4 separate regions of the Homo sapiens genome follow, and regions 2, 3 and 4 are each linked to region 1. The links are contacts of gene promoters, found by promoter capture Hi-C in blood cells and fetal thymus (Javierre and others, 2016). All regions are on one chromosome and are shown on one strand. The core of a region is centred on a gene start or on the middle of the fragment in contact, and the rest is flanking DNA. Distances in the headings are between cores, read along the strand shown.

The links. The method cuts DNA at HindIII sites, captures the fragments that hold promoters and counts their contacts. A CHiCAGO score of 5 or more calls a contact.
Region 2: a fragment that was not itself captured here is called in contact with the fragment with the promoter of HEATR3 in region 1 in 3 of 17 cell types (neutrophils, monocytes and naive CD8 T cells); the score reaches 6.1 in neutrophils.
Region 3: a fragment that was not itself captured here is called in contact with the fragment with the promoter of HEATR3 in region 1 in 1 of 17 cell types (neutrophils); the score reaches 8.3 in neutrophils.
Region 4: a fragment that was not itself captured here is called in contact with the fragment with the promoter of HEATR3 in region 1 in 6 of 17 cell types (neutrophils, naive B cells, activated CD4 T cells and 3 more); the score reaches 10.9 in neutrophils.

The regions. Positions count from the first base shown.
Region 1 is chr16:50,064,424-50,067,323 of GRCh38, reverse strand. HEATR3 (HEAT repeat containing 3) reads right to left here and starts at 1,354. Exons shown (of 15, transcript NM_182922.4): 1 at 1,055-1,354; 2 at 785-957. The coding sequence starts at 1,192. It overlaps HEATR3-AS1 (HEATR3 antisense RNA 1), which reads left to right and starts at 1,000. Exons shown (of 3, transcript NR_186390.1): 1 at 1,000-1,271; 2 at 2,517-2,633. RefSeq lists silencers at 632-891, 972-1,021, 1,352-1,401 and an enhancer at 1,252-1,546. The HindIII fragment of the contact is 22,013 bases long and covers 1-2,900 here.
Region 2 is chr16:50,686,323-50,689,521 of GRCh38, reverse strand. No RefSeq gene overlaps it. Among named protein-coding and RNA genes, the nearest start is that of NOD2, 5.7 kb to the left of the region's middle. The HindIII fragment of the contact is 3,251 bases long and covers 1-2,909 here.
Region 3 is chr16:50,649,936-50,652,788 of GRCh38, reverse strand. No RefSeq gene overlaps it. Among named protein-coding and RNA genes, the nearest start is that of SNX20, 30 kb to the left of the region's middle. The HindIII fragment of the contact is 4,167 bases long and covers 1-2,853 here.
Region 4 is chr16:50,668,730-50,672,002 of GRCh38, reverse strand. LOC101927272 (a long non-coding RNA gene) reads right to left here and starts at 3,148. Exons shown (of 3, transcript NR_110908.1): 1 at 2,843-3,148; 2 at 1,010-1,320; 3 at 364-855. SNX20 (sorting nexin 20) reads left to right here. Exons shown (of 4, transcript NM_182854.4): 4 at 1-374. The HindIII fragment of the contact is 1,314 bases long and covers 1,367-2,680 here.

The DNA of each region.
Region 1 (2,900 bases), core at 105-2,604:
GAGTGCAGTGGTGTGATCATAGCTCACTGCAGCCTCGAACTCCTGGGCTCAAGCGATTCTCCTACCTCAGCCTCCTGAGTAGCTGGGATTACAGGCACCCACCACCATGCCCGACTAATTGTTTATAATTTTTCTACAGACGGGGTCTTGCTATGTTGCCCAGGTTGGCCTTGGACTCCTGGCCTCCAGTGATCCTCCTTCCTTGGCCTCCCAAAGCAATGGGATTACAGGTGTGTGCCACCGCGCCCGGCCCAAGAGCACCCAATTCAAACTTCCCACCCCCAACTCATCATCATCTCGTTTTCCCACAGCAATTCTCACTATTTAATATTATGTTTTACCTTTTTACTAGCTTCCTGTCTGTCTCCCCATCAACATGACTTGTGCCAAGACAGGGATCTTGGCTGTCAACAGATCTCGCTCAAAAGTCTTGGCTGCTCAAAGTCCCCTGCATCTAGAACGATTCCTGACACATGAACTGAAGAGTTCATCCAAGCAAGGGACCCTAAGGAGGGCTTTTGGAGAGTGTAAAACGTGCGCAAGGCGTGAGGGCAGGACGCCTGAGCAGGTGGACGCTGCAGGTGAAGCAGCCAGGTGGACAGATGAGATGCGGGGATACTGGGCTTCTCCGGAGCCTGGAGACTGGCTTCAAATCTCTGCAAACGGGAGACCGGGCCAGTGCCTGATGGCACACAGAAGGCGCTGGGTGACCGCTGCGACCGCCCGCAGCCCAGACGCGGGGGAGGCCAGCGGTGGGCACCGCCCCGCACCCTTCCTGGCTCACCTCAGCGCGCCGGCTGCAGTCTCCCTGACGGCCAGGCTGGGGTCTAGCAGCAGCGGCCCGAGGCGGCGCACGGCGTCTCGTCGCGCCAGGCCCGGGAGTGCCGGCCGCTGCTGCACCAGCCGGGCCAGCCCTGCGCAGGCGCACTCGCGGACCTCGGCGCTCGGGTGCTGGAGCTGCGGATGAGAGCGAAAAGGGTCAGAAGGCGCGCAATGCGCACGCGCGCGGGGCAACCTCGTCTCGCCTCCCGGCCCGACGGAGCCCTCGCCTCACCTTTTCCAGCAGCTCCGCCGCCGGCCCGTCGTCCTCCTCGCCTCCGGTCCCATTCGCCGCCGCAGCCGCCTCGGCCTGACAGTCGCCCGTAGGGGAGAACTGAGGTCGCTTGAAGCGCTTCGTCCGGCTCTTGCCCATGGTGACGTGCGCTGGGCGGACAGACCACCGAGAGAGGAGGGCAACAGCAGGCGGTGGAGGCTGCCGCGCCGTTAACAAGGTCCGTTGCTGCTGCTCAGCTGGGCCGGCTGACGGCTGCAGCACACATGGGCAAGCCGTGCGCAGGCGCACGGCGCGTCGTCTGCCGGGTCGGGGTTGGGGCGGGGCGGGGTGGGGGGAACTGGCGCACGGAGCGCGCAGGCGTGGAAGAGGGCATAGGCGGGGCCAGCTTCGGCAAAGGGGCGGAGCCTTGTGGGTTTACCGGGTAAGTAGGAGGTTGGACTAGAATAGTAACGCCGACCCGGGCGAGAGGATCACTTGAGGCCAGAAGTTCGAGACCATCTTGGGCAACATAGGAAAACACTCCACTCCCTGTCCTCCCCACCAAAAAAATTAAAAATTATCTGGGCATAGTGGCGTGTGTGTGTAGTCCCAGCTACTTGGGACGTTGAAGCCGGAGGATCACTTGACCCCAGGAGTTTGAGGCTGAGGTGAGCCGTGATCCTGCTACTGCACTCCATCCTGGGCGACAGAGCGAGACCCTGTCTCAATCAATCAATCAAGCAACCAATAAGTTAGTAACACCGGCTACAAATAATCAAATGTGATTAAGAATACCTAACTTGCAAGGTTATTGTAAGTTCTGTAAAGTTCATAAAGTTCTGTAAAGTGCCTAACACCAAGCCTGATATATAGCAGGTACTCAAAAAGCATTAACCACGATTTTATTTTGTGTCCCCAGCACCTCCCATAGCTCCTGTCGTAGACAGAGACTAGTTAATGTTTTGGAACGAATGTGTGTCTATATTTGATAAAACAGAATCGCTTAAGAACCTAATCTCCCTGCCTTAGTTTCCTCATCAGTGAAGTGGGGACATCGATAGTATATACCTCATGGAGTTGTTACGAAGACTAAATGTGTTCATATGTTTAAGGTGCTAAGAACAGAGACTGGCAGATACTAAGCACTATGTAAATGTTTGGAAACGTATTTAACAAAGAGATTCTTTTGCAGATATTTGTTGAGTACTAGGTACAGTGCTGGGCATTGGAATAAAGCAGTAATCAAGACAGTTTGGTTCCTGTCCTCTCTCCCTGTCCTTATGGAATTTACAGTCCAGGGAGAGATCTGTTGAATATATAATTATATGAATAACTTTGGTTATAATTGTGGTAAATACTAAGCAGAGGGAAAAGTACAGGAGAATCTTAGGTGGTCTTTATAATTAGACATGTAACGAGTGAGTACTCAATATATGCATAGCTTTGGGTCAATTTTCTTTTTTTCTTTTTGTTTTTGAAACAGAGTCTCACTCTGCTGTCCAGGCTGGAGTGCAATGGTGCGATCTCGGCTTATTGTAACCTCTGCCTTGGAGTTCAAGCAGTCCTCCTGCCTTAGCCTCCTAAGTAGCTGAGATTACAGGTATGTGCCACCATGCCCAGCTATTTTTTTTTTATTATTATTTTTAGGAGAGACGGGGTTTTACCACGTTGGTCAGGCTGGTCTCGAACTCTTGATCTCAAATGATCTGCCTGCCTCAGCCTCCCAAAGTGCTAGTATTACAGGTATGAGCCACCACGCCCAGGCTCAGGTCAACATTCTACTGGAGAAAATTTCCATTCCATGGTAACCCTACTGTCAAAGAGTTGACTGTCCAGTAAGGGAAATTAATTACTATGGCAAATTTTA
Region 2 (3,199 bases), core at 35-2,534, 620 kb before region 1:
CGTAAAGTGGTGAAGCCACTGTGGAAAATAGTTTGTGGGTTCTTCATAAAGTTAAACATGGTGTTACCATATGATCCAGCAATTCTACTCCTAGGTATACTCAACAGAATTGAAGCATATATGCACACAAATGCTTGTACACAAATGTTCATAGCAACATTATTCATAAGAGGAAAAAGTGGAAGCAAACTAAATGTCCCTCAGCTGATGAATGGATAAAGAAAATGTGATCTATCTGTGCAATGGAATATTATTCAGCTGTGAAAAAAACAAAGTACTGATAAATGCTACAACATAAATGAACCTTGAAAACATTATGCTAAGTGAAAGAAGCCAGTCACAAAATGACATCTATTGTGTAAGTCCGTTTACATGCAATGTCCGGAATAGGCAAACCCATGAAGACAGAAAGTAGATTTGTTGGTTGCCAGGAACTGAGAGGAGGGAGGAATGAGGAGTGACTGCTAGTGGGCATGAGGTTTGGTTTTTGTTTTGTTTTGTTTTGTTTTGTTTTTGCATGATGAAAATATTCCGGAATTAGATCATGGTGATGGTTACACAACCTTGTGAATGGACTAAAAACCAGTGAATTACACACCTTAAAAGGGTGAGTTTTATGGTATGTGAATTATATCTCAATGAAAAACAGTTGGGCTGCCAAATGCTTTGTGTAGAAAGAATATAAGGCTAAATTTAAAGAGTAGGTTGTTTTTTAACAAGGATGCCAAGATAATTCAAAGGGGAAAAATGATCTCTTTAACACATGGTGCTGGGAAAACTAGATATCCACGTGCAAAAGAAATGAATTTGGACTACTACCTCATACTTTATACAAAAATTCTGTAATAGATATGTGTGAATATATGCATTGAAACATCTAAAAGACAAGTTAGGATCGGATTTTAACTGGACTTTTAAAATTCTTCTGTGTTAACCTGTATTTCCTAATAAGCATAATTTACTTGTTTAATAATAATTTTTTAAAACTTTCCAATGAGTTAAGGGATATTGATTAAAAACTCCCTGTGTGCAGGGCCCTCTGCCGAGACAGGCAATTGGGATGCCCTGGAGACATTTCTGTCCTTGAGTGCTCTGACATGGGCACCGTGCAGGAAGTGCTCAGAAGAGGCGGAGGGAAAATGCTTCCAGAATCCCCCGGGCCTCAGAGGAGAGAAATCCTTGGATTGTGTCATTCAAAATTCTTCCAGGCCGGGAAGCTGCCTGTGCCTGAGCACTTCCCCCAGGAGCGAGGACTGCCCCCATCAGCAGGCCTGGATAGTAGGAGCTCAGCCCAGGACCGACGGCGGCTGCTGCTGCTGACAGTGGTGGTAACCCGGCCTCATAGTGGGCTGCAGTCTCCACGCTGGTGGTCCTCTGCTCCAAGCAGCCCGCCCACTCACCAAAGTCCAAACACTTCCACAAGCTGGCCCAAATGGATGAAGACAGGAATGGCTTTCCCTCCCCACATCTCTGCACCCCTAGCTTCACCAACTTCCCGCAGCTCTCAGTACTCCCACCTGTGAGCTTCTGCTCACTCTGTGCCCCAGGCAGAGGCAACAGGTGGCAACTGCAAGGACTCTGGCCCCAGCGAACTTGGATTTGAATTCCAGCCCTGCTCCTTAGCGGCTGTATGCTCTTGGCCAGTCATTTCATTTCTCTTGACCTCAGTCTCCCTCACAGTTAAGTGAGGATGACAGTCCACTTAGATCTTGTCATGAGGGATGCATACACTAGGACTCGGTGCCTGGTAAACAGTGAGCACACCACAGTGTGAATATGTTATTGAACACTTGCCATATGCCACGCCGTGTACTCTCACAACACCTCTATGGAATAGGTTCCATTCCTCATCCCCATCTTTGACAGGAAGAAACGGAGGTTTCAAGAGGATCATGAATTTCCTAAGATGACCCAGCTATGGAATGGTGGGACTATGAGTCAAGTCCACGTCCTTCTCTACCTGCTTTTATCTGGACCTTCCATGCCCACCTCCTGCAAGGAAGCTCTCCAGACCCCACAGTCCCTGTGGGCTCTCCCAGTCCTCTCAGCTGCAAAGATCAGCCTGCCTGTTCTCCTGTTGGCCATCAGCCGAGACGGTCCAACACTGTTGGCCCAAGTTCCATGTGTCCGTCCTGTGTATCACCAGTCTCTGAGGGTTCAAGGTATCCCTTCCTTGTCCCTTCCTTGTTGCTGGACCTCAGCCTCTGGCCCAGTGCTTGGCCAAGTCTGTTTTCAGAGTGACTTTTTTTTTTTTTCCGAGGTGGAGTCTCACTCTGTTGCCTAGGCTGGAGTGCAGTGGCGCCATCTCAGCTCACTGCAACCTCCGCCCCCTGGGCTCAAGCGATTGTCCTGTCTCAGCCTCCCAGGTAGCTGGGACTACAGGCATATGCCATCATGCCCAGCTAATTTTTGTATTTTTAGTAGAGACAAGGTTTCAGCATGTTAGCCAGGTTGGTCTCAAACCCTTGACCTCAGGTGATCTGCCTGCCTTAGCCTCCCAGGCTAGGATTACAGGCGTAAGCCACTGCGCCCTATCCATGGGTGACTTACTGACAGAGGGACAATGCTTGAAAGAAGGACACATTGGAGCAGGCAGCTCTCCACAGAGCAGCCTCCAGCCTGGGAACCTGACGTGCCTGCATCTCTTGGGCAGCCTCTGAGGTTGCCCCATTCCTACCTCAAGACCAGACCCAGCATTCTGTCACTTCCCCACCTCAGGTCCTAACCCAATTCCAAGCTCATCAGTACATTGGGCAGGAAGATCAGACACCTGAAAACACAATCCAGCTCCCCTGCCTAAGCCTCCTCCTGAGACCCCGTGCTGTGCCTCCTCTCTCTCCTTCCCTTCCGCCTTATTGTTTCTAGAATCACCCCTCTGTTCTCAAACCCTGCCATTCTAGCCCCAAGCTTACAAACCCCACTTCAGCAAAATAAAATGTTCCATTGGCTGAGGGTGTTGTCTTTGAAAATCAGTTTCTCACTCCTCCATTATTAATTAACTCACAGAAGACCATATCATTCTTCTTTTCCAATGTGTGGACACAAGTGCCAACTTCATCTGCATGGTCAGAAGTGCCGGGTTGGAACAGAAGAGCCAGGGCTGGATTTTTAGCATTACTGCTGCCTTTTTTTTTTTTTTTTGAGGTAGAGTCTCACTCTGTCGCCCAGGCTGGAGTGCAGTGGTATGATCTCAGCTCAC
Region 3 (2,853 bases), core at 3-2,502, 590 kb before region 1:
CTGAGGGCCTCCGAAGTATTCCAAAGGGTTTGTGAGCAGGCATGTGGTCCGGGAGATGGTGTTGGAAGTGAGGCGGCAGCTGCCATCATGGTACCTGGTCAAGCTGGAGCCCAGCTCAGATGGAACTGAATCTGAACCAGTATGTGTTGGGGGGATGATGTGGACAGGAAACTGGCCACTGCCTCTTGCATCTCTTTGGACCCTAGGCAGCCCTCCTTCTCACTGTCAGCAGCCTTGGGGATTATCTCGCTGCTCACAACAGCCGGTGTCTTATGATGTAATTAACCCCATTGCAGACACGGGCAAACTGAGACTCACAGAGGGGAAACGGTTTCCTCAGGACTGCAGAGCAAATTGTTGGCCATGCTGAGCCTTCAACTCAGCTCATCTAATGCCCAAGATAGGGCCTCACCCTGAGTTTGCATATATAATGGAGGTCACTGTTTTTCAGTGGACTTTCATCTTCTTCTCTCCCCTTGGCATGAAGAGTGCTCCCCTACCCCATGGCTTTTGGGCTTGGCCATGTGACTTGCTTTGGCCAATGGGATGGGAGTGAATGCCATGAGCTCAACCATGTAACTTGCTTTCACCAGTGGGAGAGGAATGAATGCAACGAGCTTGGTGGTGCGGCCTGCTTTGGCCAGTGGGATGGGAGTGGATATGATGAACTTAGCCACGTGACTTAGTTTGGCCAATAGGATGGGAGTAGATAGGATGAGCTTGGCCATGTGACTTGCTTTGGCCAATGGGATGGAAGTTAATATGATGAGCCTGGGCCATGTGACTTGCTTTGACCAATGGGATGGCAGCAGATACCATGGGCTTGGCCACATGACTTCCTTTGGCCAATGGAACAGGAGTGGGTATGATGTCCACCATAGCCCCTTCTTCTTGGGTGATCAGGAGATGTGCAGAGAAGAGGGGTGGAGAGAGAGAAAGAGAGAGAGCAGGTGAGAGAGTCTTTGGACCTAATTGGGTCAAATGCCTTAGACAACTTACACAACTTCCCAGCTTTACCGTCCTCTGGAATAAAATGGACGTGATAGAAAGGCTGCCTCCTGGCCGGGCGCGGTGGCTCACGCCTGTAATCCCAGCACTTTGGGAGGCCGAGGCGGGTGGATCATGAGGTCAGGAGATCGAGACCATCCTGGCTAACAAGGTGAAACCCCGTCTCTACTAAAAATACAAAAAATTAGCCGGGCGCGGTGGCGGGCGCCTGTAGTCCCAGCTACTCGGGAGGCTGAGGCAGGAGAATGGCGTGAACCCGGGAAGCGGAGCTTGCAGTGAGCCGAGATTGCCCCACTGCAGTCCGCAATCCGGCCTGGGCGACAGAGCGAGACTCCGTCTCAAAAAAAAAAAAAAAAAAAAAAAAGAAAGGCTGCCTCCTAAGGTTGCTGTGAGGATGAAATGGGCAGTGCTTTGCCTGGAAGGCTGGAGAGTGGCTTTGCCTGGTGGGATTCTGGCACCATGGCACCTCGCACCTCAGAGGGCCCAGAGCAAGGAAGTGGCTGTACCCCAACCCCAGCTCCATGGGTCGGCAAGCCCTGGACTGTTCAAACCCTATTACAGCCTTCTATAAATGCAGATCGTCTTTATAGTTCTCTCCCCTTGGCTCCAACTTTGTTTCCATTACCTTATTTTAAGCCCATCACCTCATCTCATTTATGCCTTATAGAAATTTATGGCTAAGTGGGGACAGCAGACAGGCAGCTGTGATCTGAGGCCTCTGCAGGAGGCCCAGGAGGGGCATCTACCCAAGGCTTGGGGGTCAGGGAGGGCTTCCTGGAGGAGCGGGGTCTTGAAGAAGGAAGGGGGCAGTTGTACTAGAGACCCACGGCCACCTGTCATTTCAGCTGCAGCTATTGAGGACAGTCTAGCAAGCACAGACTCACCTCATCCCAGCAGAACTGTACCTGGCCTTCCTGCCCATTCCCTGGGGCCTTCTCCAGTCCTGCAGGAAGTGAAGGGGCATCAACACCCCCAGAGACACCCCCAAGACTCAGGCTGGGGCCAGTGGACACATGCTCCAGCCTTTCGCCCTGCAGCCAGACACCCCAGGGTCACTCTGTCCTCATCCTAGAGGGCCACTTTCTCTAATGGTGACCTCAGCAAGGCACCCTCATGTCACTTTGTCACCTGCCCTCTTGTCCTCCTGCCCCATCACTCCTCTCTTGAGCATCACCCTACCAAAAACCTACCCCCAAGTCTCTGTCTTAGGCCAGGCCTTGGGGAACCCAGGCTCAGGCCAGGAGCAGCTAGGTGAGAGGTGAGGACAAGCACTGCAGGGAGAAGGAGCAGCATATTCTGGGCTGGAAGAGAAAGGAAAGTCCTCCATTGTTTAAGGGTTGTCAGGGAGCACAGGGCAGTGGGTCAGAGGGGAAAGGCAGAAAGTCATGGAGGAGACAGGAGACAGGGAGCTAGTGGCTCCTGAGGGCCTGGTCTGCTGGGCTGGGAGCTGAGCCCTTGTCCTGAGGGCAATGAGATGGGTTTGCAGTAGGAAGTGCCATGGTCAGATTGGCGTTTTTGTTTTTGTTTTTTGTTTTGTTTTGAGACGGAGTTTTGCTCTTGTTGCCCAGGCTGGAATGCAATGGCGTGATCTCAGCTCACTGCAACCTCCGCCTCCCAGGTTCAAGAGACTCTTCTGCCTCAGCCCCCCGAGTAGCTGGGATTACAGGCACCTGCCACCATGCCCAGCTAATTTTTTGTATTTTTAGTAGAGACGGGGTTTCACCATGTTGGCCAAGCTCGTCTTGAACTCCTGACCTCAGGTGATCCACCCGTCTCGGCCTTTCAAAGTGCTGGGATTATAGGTGTGAGCCACTGCACCAGGCTGGTTTTTTGTTTTTTGTTTTT
Region 4 (3,273 bases), core at 774-3,273, 600 kb before region 1:
CCTGGATGAGCTTATTAGGGTGAATTAATGAGTCTGTAATTTGGGAACCTTAATGTGAGACACCACTTAAGGAGAGGAACTTGGCCCAGCAAGTGATCACTCTAGAAGTGGACAGCTATGCACTAGACTGCACCAGAATCTGTTCAACAGCGACACCTTGTGGTAAAAACTGTAGACGCCCCATCAGGCTGGATGGGAAACTAGAAACAGACTGTCTCATCTTTGGACAGATATCCCTCAAATCTCCCAATCTACTCCAGGGAAAAGACACTTCAAGTGAGAGATATTGGACTTCTTGAAAATCTAGGCCTATGGAAAATTAAAGTGTTAAATGGAAAAATTAAAGAGCTATGAGTCTATTTGTAATGATGAAACAGATGATATTGATTTTGTCAGTTATTTCTTCAAATCTAAAATGCTATCAACAATATGCAACAAATGTTTACTAACAAAGAAAAAATACCCAACATGGACAGTTTAATGGGATATTCCAGCACAAAAGCTGGAAAAGCAAAGAGTTAGACCCCCGATATGAGGGTTAACACCAAATAAGCCTGTTGTACAGGAGGGGACATTAAGGAAATTTGCACAAACTAAACTTGGCACTGGGTGGAGTACAGGGAACTTCCTCTGAGAATTTGAACTGCAAGCGGGCACTCGCCCATGTTTTAGGGCTGAATACACACAGCATGGTCCAAAATCCCTCAAGCAGAGAAATCATGTTAAAGTGGTCTCAGGTGGAGGTGTTCCAGGTGCCTCAAGACCTGGAGATCTTTAGGTCTTCCCTGGGGCTGAAGGATGTCAGCATCAAGCCAGGCCTATAAGAAGTGTAGGATCCTGTTGAGTTCAGAGGTGCTGAAATGTGAAAAAAAAAAGTCATCTCAAAATCACAGATAGATGATATGTGTGGGGTGTTGGGGGGGTGGGGCGGGGGGTGCACACAGAGAGAAAATACTTATATGGGAGTAAAGGAGCCTATAGAATCACATGGGGGGTTCCCCATAAGTACCTCTGAAGAGGGGTTGGCTTCCCACACAGTGCACAGGAAATGGATTTATTCAGGCTTCCCAAAAAGGGACTGGCCACATGGGGCAGCTTCAGGACCATCACTTTGCCTTTTCCCGATGACACTCAATGCTGCCCCTCCTCGTGCTTCTGGCAGCCTTGGCCTGAGCATCCACGGGAGTTTCTTCTGGCCATGGACACTGCATCTTCATCCACTACAAGTTGTCTGATGGACTGGGATGGCCTGCCACAGCCAGCTCCTCCTGGCATCTCCCATATGCTGCAGCAGTTAGAGCCCACTCGTTCCTTGGGTTCCTGGAACAAGTCCTTGAATTCCTTAGGCCCCCACCTCCAGCAAGCTTTCCGCAGGGCCCACTGCAGCCCCACCGGGGTACCCCACCTCCCTGTTTGCCTGGGCCCTCTCCCACGCCACCTGTATTAGTCCTTGTTTCTAGGGGACTTTAGAGTGGTGGCAGCTGGGACTGAACATTCTTCTCCTGACCCCTCAAAAGCTGGGTCCACAGGAGAGGTGAGGGGGTACCTGACCTCCATACCCAGGATGGAGCCTTGTTAGGAACACAGAATTTCAGGCCCCACCCTAGACCTGCTTAATCGGAGTCTGCACTTTAACAAGAGCATCCCCCACTGCCGCAGGTGACTCTTACCTGCATACCTCAAAGGTTGAGAAGCCCAGTGTTGAACTGACTTGAAGGCACCTCAATGAAAATCATCCATGGAACTGGGCCATCTGTGGTCCTGGGTTCATCCCCATCCTTCTCTTCTCTCCACCCGGGCCCTCTACCATACAGGTGCCTCATCCCAGGGGACTGCAGATGGGACTACCATGCCAGCCTCACAACCATACCTGCAAAACCACTCTGGGCATTTGGACTGGAGCTTAAAGGGGTTCATTCCAATGAAGCCCTCCCTGCTGCAGCAGCCACTCCCCCCCACTGGCTGTGATGGAGTCCTGGGGTCTCCACTTTGAGCTGGGATTAGGCATCCTCATGAGACCCTGTCCCCTGGGATGCCGGCAGTTCCCTGCCAAGCCCACAATTGAAAACAAGCTCTGCAAGCAGCTCCCTGTGCGGTAAAAGTCAGGGCTCCCCAGGCCTACTGTGTGACCAGGCACTGCCGGGCCATTGATAGCACCGTCACTCCAGCTCTGCTTGGGACATGTTCCTATCCCATTTTTCAGTTGAGGAAAATGTGATCATTTGTAACATTGTAACCTGAGGGGGTTAAGTGACTTGCCCAGGGTTACACAGCTAATAACTGGACCAGGAAATTAAGACCAGGCTTTAATTTGACCCAAGCCCTACTTTCCTTGCTGAACTCCACATTAAAGGATGTGGAGGAGAGGGGAAGGGATATGTTCCTGGTCCCCTCACCGAAATGGGTCCTTGATATGGTTTGGATGCATGGTGGTCACCTCCAAATCTCATGCTGAATGTGACTCCCAGTGTTGAAGGTGTGGCCTGGTGGGAGATGTTTGGCTCATGGGGGCAGGTCCCTCATGGATGGCTTGGTGCCCTCCCCGTGGTAATGAATGAGTTCTCACTCTGTTAGTTTACATGAGAGCTGGTTGTTTAGAAGAGCCTGACATGGCTCTTGCTCCCTCTCTTGCCATGTAAGTCACGAACTCCCCCTTCCCCTTCCACCATAAGTGGAAGCTTCCTGAAGCTTCACAAGAAGCAATGCTGGTGCCATGCTTCTGTACAACCTGCACAACTGTGAGCCAAATAACCCTCTTTTCTTTATAAGCTACCCAACCTCAGGTATTCCTTTATAGCAATGCAAAATGGACTGACACGCCTTTAAAGATCATTTCACTCACCTCTGTTTACAGATGGGGAAATCAAGGCCTGGAGAGATGACTTATCCAGGGTCACGTGGCGAGACAGGGACAGCACCAGAACCAGACCCGAGATGTCCACGTCAAAGTGACATGCTCTGAGAGGCAGCACACACAGAATAACCCTGCATCCAAATTCCAGGAAGCTCTTAGGGGTCATCCAGCTGGGCCTAGGGGTGCAGGGTCAGTGCTGAGGCCTGGGCAGGGCCGCTAGCCTCCCTGAGCTTTCTGGCTTCAGGCTGGGAGGCACAGTTCAGGGTGGACTGTGACCCCTTGGCCTAGAATGCCCTTAGCTCTGCTCTCTAGTGGCTGTCCCCATAGCTGGAACTCTGTTTTGGAGTGGCAAAACCAGTTCCACCTGCTGGTAGGGGTAGGTTGGCTCCCAACACATCCCCAGCAGGCCTCTCTTGGGC